Regions from separate parts of the Homo sapiens genome. Here all the other regions are linked to region 1. Evidence: promoter capture Hi-C in 16 types of primary human blood cells and fetal thymus (Javierre and others, 2016). All regions are on one chromosome and are shown on one strand. Each heading gives the region's core, a stretch centred on a gene start or on the middle of the fragment in contact. The rest is flanking DNA. Distances are from core to core; before and after follow the strand shown. Region 1 holds the start of CLEC4E (C-type lectin domain family 4 member E). Region 2 overlaps A2ML1 (alpha-2-macroglobulin like 1). Region 3 holds the start of A2ML1 (alpha-2-macroglobulin like 1).

What was found. Contacts are between HindIII fragments. The CHiCAGO score rates a contact against its expected background, and 5 or more counts as called.
Region 2: a fragment that was not itself captured here is called in contact with the fragment with the promoter of CLEC4E in region 1 in 4 of 17 cell types (naive CD8 T cells, endothelial precursors, non-activated CD4 T cells and 1 more); the score reaches 6.8 in naive CD8 T cells.
Region 3: a contact is called between the fragment with the promoter of A2ML1 here and the fragment with the promoter of CLEC4E in region 1, in 6 of 17 cell types (M2 macrophages, endothelial precursors, naive CD8 T cells and 3 more). The highest score is 6.5, in M2 macrophages.

Annotation. Positions count from the first base shown.
Region 1 is chr12:8,539,424-8,542,517 of GRCh38, reverse strand. It overlaps CLEC4E (C-type lectin domain family 4 member E), which reads left to right and starts at 1,613. Exons shown (of 6, transcript NM_014358.4): 1 at 1,613-1,757; 2 at 2,571-2,663. The coding sequence starts at 1,721. The HindIII fragment of the contact is 5,761 bases long and covers 1-3,094 here.
Region 2 is chr12:8,843,619-8,846,712 of GRCh38, reverse strand. A2ML1 (alpha-2-macroglobulin like 1) reads right to left here. Exons shown (of 36, transcript NM_144670.6): 13 at 1,211-1,271; 14 at 491-636. Among named protein-coding and RNA genes, the nearest start is that of A2ML1-AS1, 14 kb to the right of the region's middle. The HindIII fragment of the contact is 7,718 bases long and covers 1-3,094 here.
Region 3 is chr12:8,821,165-8,824,258 of GRCh38, reverse strand. It overlaps A2ML1 (alpha-2-macroglobulin like 1), which reads right to left and starts at 1,638. Exons shown (of 36, transcript NM_144670.6): 1 at 1,546-1,638; 2 at 894-1,077; 3 at 377-539. The coding sequence starts at 1,607. All of the region lies in intron 1 of A2ML1-AS1 (A2ML1 antisense RNA 1), which reads left to right. The HindIII fragment of the contact is 3,171 bases long and covers 1,366-3,094 here.

The DNA of each region.
Region 1 (3,094 bases), core at 364-2,863:
TATTTTCTCACACATGGAAAATTCGTGAGTCACTGGATGTGGGGATTTACCAAGTCATGTACATCATACTTATGCCTCCTGACTCGTGAACTTAAATAAACTGAGACCAGTGTGATCTTATTCTTAAGTATCTTTAAGTAAGGAGAAGGCACATATCTAACTATTCTTCCAGAGAAGCATTAATTCTTTTTTTTTTTTTTTTTTGAGACAGAGTCTCACTCTATCGCCCAGGCTGGAGTGCAGTGGTGCAATTTTGGCTCACTGCAACCTCTGCCTCCCAGGATCAAGCTATTCTCCTGTCTCAGCCTCTCAAGTATCTGGAATTACAGATGCGTGCCACCACACTTGGCTAATTTTTGTATTTTTAGTAGAGGTGGGGTTTCACCATGTTGGCCAGGCTGGTCTCAAACTCCTGACCTCAAATGATCCACCCACCTTGGCCTCCCAAAGTGTTGGAATTACAGGCATGAGCCACTGCTCCCGGCCCAGAGAACCATTAAATTCTAATATCTAATTGAAATTGCTTTTTCTGACCTTCAAATACATTTCTCCTACTGTAGGCTGTAACATAGAACTAAAATCCCCAAATAATTGAGAACAGGAGAATTAAACTGCCTGCTGGGTCTCTGAGACTTCAGAAGCTGCGTTATGTTGTGAAAAACTAAGCTGAGTTTCAAAGTGGTCTAATCACATGAGGCTGTCCTGCTGAGGGGGACTCTAGTAGTCAGCCTAGTAGTAGCAGCCTAGTAGTCAGCATAAGATAAGAGGGACATAAATCCACAACATTAGAATATTCAAGAGCTGCAAATGAAGAAGAAAGAAAAACCATAAAAGATGAAAAAGAGGACGGGCGCGGTGGCTCACGCCTGTAATCTCAGGACTTTGGGAGGCTGAGGCGGGCGGATCACGAGGTCAGGAAATTGAAACCATCCTGACGACCACAGTGAAACCCCGTCTCTGCTAAAAATACAAAAAATTAGCCAGGCGTGGTGGCGAGCGCCTGTAGTCCCAGCTACTCGGGAGGCTGAGGCAGGAGAATGGCTTGAACCCGGGAGGCGGAGCTTGCAGTGAGCGGAGATCATGCCACTGCACTCCAGCCTGGACGACAGAGCGAGACTCTGTCTCAAAAAAAAAAAAAAAAAAAAAGATGAAAAAATTCAGGTTGCCATGTCCTAAATACATACACTATATGCCCAGCTTTGTGCTATGTTGTCTAAGTCTTCTTTTCAGTTACCAAATGTGTGGATGGTACAGATCCAAAGTGAAATTCAGAGTGCAGAGGTGAGCTCCATATTGTCAAGGAAAAACTGGGGGATGAGTTATGCCTTGAAGAAACTAGAGACATTTGGTCCAACGAAACGAAACAACATTTAAAAAAAAAACTCTCCTGTTTCCCCATGGCTAGCCTATTTGTGTTGATGCTTACCATTTCATAATTTCCTCATTTTGTTGTTACATGGAGTGAAGAGAACTGACATGCTGTCCAATAAACTTCCTTGTCCTCCTTATGCAAGAAAGGAAATCCTGACTTAATGCGTAGCCACAGAACAAGTTAATATTCTACATCTATCGGAGCTGAACTTCCTAAAAGACAAAGTGTTTATCTTTCAAGATTCATTCTCCCTGAATCTTACCAACAAAACACTCCTGAGGAGAAAGAAAGAGAGGGAGGGAGAGAAAAAGAGAGAGAGAGAAACAAAAAACCAAAGAGAGAGAAAAAATGAATTCATCTAAATCATCTGAAACACAATGCACAGGTAAAATCTGCAACTCTTCCTTTCCTTCCATAGATCTCTTTTTGGAACAAGTGATAAATATGGTGAAAGACAGGACAATAGAAAAGTATTCACTGAAGTTAAAAAAAAAAGTGGGGGGACAGAGGAAGAGAGAGAGAGAGATTTAAAGACTATTTCTTATACCAGAAAGCCTGCTGGCCTCTAGCTAAGGGAGAGCTATCAGTTTCCACCCTTTCTGCAATACATTGTGTCCCTTTTGGCAAGTCACTTCACTTCTCTGGAACTCTCTTTGTCTGTAAAATGTTTAATGGGAGGAAGAGAGGAACTATTAGATGACTGTTAACATTTTACCTAATTTACAAAGCGCTTGAAAAGTGAGACACAGAAAAAAAAAAAAGATCAGGAGAAGGACAAGAAAAGCAAAGACGAGAAAAGGGAAAAGAAAGAAAAAGAAAGAAGGGGGGCCTTAGAAAATACTGAAAAAAATTTAACTGAGAGACTTAGAAAGGAAAAATTGTATATCTGAGTTCATGAGTCAGAGTCTTACTCCAGGGGTGCTAAACGTGTGGTCCTCAGACCAGCAGCAGCAGTAGCCCCTGGGAACTTGTTGGTTCCATACAAACTCTACTGAGTTGCTAACTCTGGGGGTAAGGGTCAGCAATCTGTGTTTCCATAAACCCTCCAAGTGATTCTGAAGCATGCTGAAATTTGGGAATTACTCAGTACAAACAATGGAAGTAGAAGGAAATAAGTAAGGATGAATAAGAATCTCTTCTATCTCTTTTGTACCTTGCTTAGGGAAGATTGATCATGTTTGTGTCTTTCTTTCTACAGAGAGAGGATGCTTCTCTTCCCAAATGTTCTTATGGACTGTTGCTGGGATCCCCATCCTATTTCTCAGTGCCTGTTTCATCACCAGATGTGTTGGTGGGTTCTGAAGGTCAAATTCAATTTAATTCTTCCTGGTGCATATTAGGAGAAAACTCTTCCATGCTGCCTGTAGACTCTCTTTGCCCTCAAAGGGTCTTTCTATTTCACCCTTTTTTTTTTCCCTATTAATCTCTAGGTTATTTCTCAAACCAGAAACCTCAACAAGCAGGGAACTGTTTCTGAATTTTAATCACCTGTGACTTACTTTTCATGATAGACATTTTTCACTTCCTTGGCAGTCCTGAATCCTCCTCTTTCAGCCTCTATCATTAGTGTAACCTTCTCTAGGAGAGTCTGCCTTAGAGCTTGAACTACTGGTCGGCACCAGAGATATGACTAATTACTTTTGGAAGGAAGGGTAGAGAGAGTTGGACTTGGCATAAGAGGTAGTGCAAACATATCTATTTTCTCTGGGTCGTAAGAAAAAG
Region 2 (3,094 bases), core at 284-2,783, 300 kb before region 1:
CAGCCTCCCAAGTAGCTGGGATTGCAGGCATCCACCACCATGCTTGGCTAATTTTTGTATTTTTAGTAGAGACACGGTTTCACCAGGCTGGTCTTGAACTCCTAGCATCAGGTGATCCACCCACCTCGGCCTCCCAAAGTGCTGCACACCCAGCTAATTAAAAATTTTTTTGTACAGACAGGATCTTGCTATGTTGTCCAGGCTGGTCTTGAACCCTTGACCTAAAGAAATCCCTCTGCCTTGGCCTCCCAAAGCACTGGGATTACAGGAGTGAGCCACTGCACCTCAGCCAGCATGACTTCTTAAAATAAAAAGTAGGAGAGAGATGGATTTCAACACAAACCCCAAACACTAAAGATATAAATATAATACAACATCCAACGTCAACACTATCTTCTTTCCCTGACTTGTCTTGTTTCCAACCGCAGCACACACAAGATCTTTCTCTATGCCCAACTTTTATCTTCACCCTTCTCCGCTATCATTTTACCTGATTGTCAAAGCACATCTCGACTGAGAACTGAATTTTGTCAGCTACAACACCTCCACTGGGAAAAATGGCATAGATCACCAGGGAAGGATCAGGGGCCAGTCTCGAAGTGAAGGTCAGTGAGAGAGAGAAGGAGGCTTTCAGTCCTGAAAGAGAAGAGGGAATATACAGGAAAATCAGAATGCACATTCACCTGCCAACGGCATCTAACCATATGTACTTTTCACTGAGCCAGTGCAGGCACCATGGTGCAAGTTACTTCTCATTTTTCTCTTCTCCTGTGATAACTGTTAGTGCTCCAATTCCATTACTTCTGTGGATAAGAATTTTTTTATTTTATTTTATTTTATTTTATTTATTTTTTTTTTTTTTTGAGACGGAGTCTCGCTCTGTCGCCCAGGCTGGAGCGCAGTGGCATGATCTCGGCTCACTGCAAGCTCCGCCTCCCGGGTTCACGCCATTCTCCTGCCTCAGCCTCCCGAGTAGCTGGGACTACAGGGGCCCGCCCCGACGTCCGGCTAATTTTTTTTTGTATTTTTAGTAGAGACGGGGTTTCACCATGTTAGCCAAGATGGTCTCGATCTCCCGACATCGTGATCCGCCCACCTCGGCCTCCCAAAGTGCTGGGATTACAGGCATGAGCCACCGCGCCTGGCCAAGAATTGTTTTCTGGAATTTAAAAATATCCTGTTTGCTTCCGGGAAAAGCATGTACACTCACCTTTCTTCTTAGAGTTCAGGTGTTTCTGCCCCTCCATCACCAAACTTCCTTTCCCTATTAACTAAAGAAGAAAAGAAAAGAATCAACTGCACAGAAGTTACAGTAATTTCACCTTGGACCAACTTCCAGAGCATCTCTGCATCCCTTCATGAGGAGAGGTTCCTTTCACAGTTCAGAGTCCGGGTCAATACCTCACCCAGCATCCACTAGCTTGACAAATGCAGGATGCTGCCAACGGGTCCTGGTGGCTCCTCCTGCAGTTGGAGGTCTGGCTGAGAACCACGCAGGTGGATGGGAGGAGTCTGACAGCATAGAAATTGTTCCTCACCATAGATAACTGTCTGCCATTTCTTGAAGATCTCCAAATTTTATTTTCTTATAATCTTTGTAACAGAAAGTCAGCGAAAATCTATCCTCATAAGTGTTTTTTAATTACAGCTCAATTTAAAATTCAGTGGAAATAATTTCATCCTAAACCACCCTGAGCCCTTCTGACATTGAACCCTCTAGAGGAGAAATCTCCTCTTCTAACTCCCCCTTCCCGTCCACTCTCACTTGAAACAGAACTCGGTGATCTTGTTTGCAAGCAGGCTCTCATCCCACGCTCCTGCAGGGCTCCAAGGTCGGTTCCTTGGACGCCTGCCCAGCATTAGCCATTCCACGTGGCTCGGCCCTAACTTCACTTTTGTCCTACACCTCCCCACACTTCGGTCCTGAAGACAGAGCCCGCTTTATCACTGGACTTGTTATTTTCCACCTATCTTTTCTCTTTTCGTTGTATTAGGATGATTTTTTTTTTTTCACTTAACGACAACACTGAAACCATGGAAGCTACTGCAATGATCCAGAGGGGAGAAAGTCTCTCATAGACTGACAGGAGGATAACGGAACAAAGAGGCTCCGAGCCATCAAACCTGAGGTTTCCATTCTACTTCCTGACTGTCACCAAGGTGACAGGAAAGCTGCTTATCCTTATACATTGCTTTCAGGCTACCAAGTTATGATTTTATTTCCCCAATGAGGCTGCTATCGATGTGAATTTAACCCCATATCATCTATTTGATAATATTGACCAATGGAACACAGAATGAAATGTATCCTGGCTGGGCTCGGTGGCTCATGCCTGCAGTCCCAGCACTTTGGGAGGCCAAGGTGGGCAGATCACCTGAGGTCAGGAGTTCAAGACCAGCCTGGCCAACATGGCGAAACCCTGTCTCATATAAATTAAAAAAAAAAAAAAAGTATCCTGAGTCCCATCCCTCCCCACTCTCCCTCCCAACCACCCAGCTGGTTTTGTTTTTGTTTTTGTTTTTTTTGGTCCTGGCCAGCACTATTTTCTCAGGTAATTCCTCATTTTATTTTCCCACACAATTTTCCTGTGTTCCTGCTCAGAATCTCTTTCTTCCCCCAATGTTTTCCATCTCTTACACCTATACTGGGCCATGCAGTATCTCATAGCCACATAGGAATATTGAATACTTGAGGCCGGGCGCGGTGGCTCATGCCTGTAATCCCAGCACTCTGGGAGACTGAGGCAGGTGGATCACGAGGTCAGGAGATCGAGACCATCCTAGTTAACATGGTGAAACCCCGTCTCTACTAAAAATACAAAAAAAATTAGCTGGGCGTGGTGGCGGGCGCCTGTAGTCCCAGCTACTTGGGAGGCTGAGACAGGAGAATGGCGTGAACCTGGGAGGTGGAGCTTGCAGTGAGCCAAGAACACACCACTGCACTCCAGCCTGGGCAACTGAGCGAGACTGTGTCTCAAAAAAAAAAAAAAAGAAAAAAAAAGGAATATTGAATACTTGAAATGTGCTCAGTCCAAACTGAGATACGCTTTAAGTGTAAAATACATACTGAGTTTCAAAGACACCGTTGAAACAA
Region 3 (3,094 bases), core at 389-2,888, 280 kb before region 1:
AACAAATACAAAAAAAAAAAAAAAAAAAAAAAAAAACCCCAGTAGCTCAAGCCAAATGCCCTCAGTGCTTTCTTAGCCATTTACAAGCAGTTTGTTGTAAGGCCCAGCAACCCAGTTATACTTGCCAAATTCTATTCCAGAAGAAATGTGTACTTTTGTTTTAGATACACAAACTCAGTAGCAACCCCCACCTACTTCTCTTGCTTGTGTAGCGCAGCATGTATTCAACACTTGCACTACTTAATCCCCCCAGATTTTCCTCTCCTCTGCACTCCTTTTTTTCCAAAGCCTACTGTCAAACCACAAATCCCCTCTTTACCCCTGTGCACAGCGGTTTCCCCAGGTTTTAGTCGAACCCCAAATATGTGACTCTTACCTTGCTGCCCTGGGGTGTAGAGAGGTTTGTCAGTCTGTACAAAGGTGCCGTTCCCCTGCCTCTGAATTAGAACCTTTTTCTTCTCCTCAAAGCTGATGTTATTTCCAACTCCCGACACCCGGATTGTGGCCACTTCTTCTGTGCCACCAGCAGGAGGTGGTACCTGACCAAGAAAGGGGACTTCTGGGGAGGGGTAAGGGATTGGGGGAACAGAATCAACTGGTCTCAACCCAACAGTGAGTTAAAGGAAAGAGCTGAGTTAGATGGGGGTAGCAAGGATAGAGACATAAAACAAATTACCACGAGGAAGAATTAAGGTCAGGAACTAAAGGGAGAAATCCTAGGTCGAGGAAACCGTGGGTGAGTTATAGCCGGGGATTGAGGTTAAGTTGAGAAAAAATAGGTTTAGAGGCCGTGGCAAAAGATAACAGAAATTATACTTAAAGTAGATTATAGTGAGCCTAGGGAGGAGAATAGGCAAGTAAGGGATTCGAGTGAGGGCTGAGTCTGTGCTTACAAGAAAGGAGATACAATGTAAGTGCCTCTTCTTCAGTCCAGAGTATTCTAGCAACTTCTGGGTCTTGTCCTTGGTCTCCAGAGTAACCGTGAATTTAACATCACTGTACCCAGGGCTCAGGTCCAAACAAACCTTCTGAACGGAGGGGAAATTTAGCCGGGCTGGTAATGTCACCAGGTAGTTTCTATTAAAGGAGCAGAAGGATTTCAGGGCAATAATGATTCATTCACTCGAAAAATCCAGCACTCTCCTAAGCGCTCAGCAAGTAGCAGTGAATTAGACAGACCAAGCCCCTGCCTTCCTTATGCACCTCATTTTCTACAAGAAGCAGAGGGGCAACGACTCAGTGCACAGTCTTCAACTTCCGCCATCAGGAGGCCCTCACCGAGCACACATGCCTAGAGCACCAAGGAGGAAATTAGGCCTATTTCAGAAAACAGGGCACATTTTAATATTTATCTTTTTTAAAGCTTCCTCTTCATGCGTCAGCCTCCCTCTCTGGGTAAAGGATCAGTGGAACCAAAGAAGAGAAAAAAGGAGGAGGAAATTAAGATAAACCAAAGTTGATCTCCCCATCTCCATATAAATGTTTGAGAAAGTTAGGCGAAGAAGCCGCTGCCCTAATAAACCAATTCTGACACCAAGCACTCACGGAAGTTCTTCTGCAATGGCTGGTGATAGGGCCAACATTCCTAGAAGGAGCTGAGCCCACATCTTTGTGGGTGAGACAGATTTTTCCAGGGTCAGGGGCAGAGATCGCTCCGCGTAGCTTTATATACTAATTCCAGGTAGGGTGTGCAGTGATGACTGATGCTATAGTCAGTCACCTCCTGGCACCTGGAACACAGGAGGACTGTGTTCCTCCTTCTGTAACCACCAGGTTAGGTGGTGGACCAGGGTAGGGCCACTATTCACTTCTTTAAAGTTGTTTCTGCCTGGAACATCCATACTGGTTCAGCCAGTTTTGGGGGAAAACCAGAGCTGAGTATTCATAATGGTAAAGCTCTCAGAACATATTTTGAACTCCTCCCTTTTTTTCTGGTCTCATTCCAATTCCTGTTCTCATTTAATGTCCTTATTTTCTTTTATTATTCAATTAAGGTGTAGTTGGGAACACGGGTATGAGAACAGTTTCAATAGAAAAGCAGTAAACTTGGCCGGTCACAGTGGCTCACGCCTGTAATCCCAGCACTTTGGGGGGTTGAGGTGGGCAGATCACCAGGTCAGGAGTTCAAGACCAGCCTGGCCAACATAGTGAAACCCTGTCTCTACTAAAAATACAAAGAAAAAAAAATCAGCTGGGCATAGTGGTGGGTGCCTATAGTCCCAGCTACTTGGGAGGCTGAGGCAGGAGAATCGCTTGAACCCGGGAGGTGGAGGTTGCAGTGAGCCGAGATCATGCCACTTTACTCCAGCGTGGGTGACACAACGAGACTCTGTCTCAAAAAAAAAAAAAATTAATACTACTCAGTATTGTTGTGACTGTATGGAAATAGGGACACACACAGTCCTAGAGAAAATAGAATGTGGATAACTTTCTCATGGCAATTTTGTAATACACACCAAAGCCTTTGAGATTTGCATATTCTTTCACTCAGCAACTCCTACTCTGGAAATGTTTCTTAATGAGGAAAAAAAGGACAGCATGCATGTATGCACAAGTGTAACACTGAGTTTTTTCACACTGTTCTTTCTTTTTTTTCTTTTCTTTATTTTTTATTTTTTTGAAGTAGAGTCTCACTTTATCACCCAGGCTGGAGTGCAGTGGCACAATCTCAGCCCACTGCAGCTTTGACCTCCTGGGCTCAAGCGATCCTCCCACCTCCACCTCCTGAGTAGCTGGGACCACAGGTAGGCACCAACACTCCTGGCTAATTGTTTTGTATTTTTAATAGAGACAGGGTTTCACCATGTTGCCCAGGCTAGTCTCGAACTCCTGAGCTCCAGGGACCACCTCAGCCTCCCAAAGTGCTGGGATTACAGGTATGAGCCACCGTGCCCAGCCCACAGTGTTCTTTATGATGGTAATACTTAGAAGTCACCTAAAATATAAATTAGTCTAAGTGCAGTGGCTCATGCCTATAATCCCAGCTTTTGGGAGTCAGAAGCTGGAGGATTGCTTGAGCCCAAGAGTTTGAGACCAGCCTGGGCAACATAGTGAGACCCCGTTTTGTAACCACCCAATGGATTCACCTTGCTTG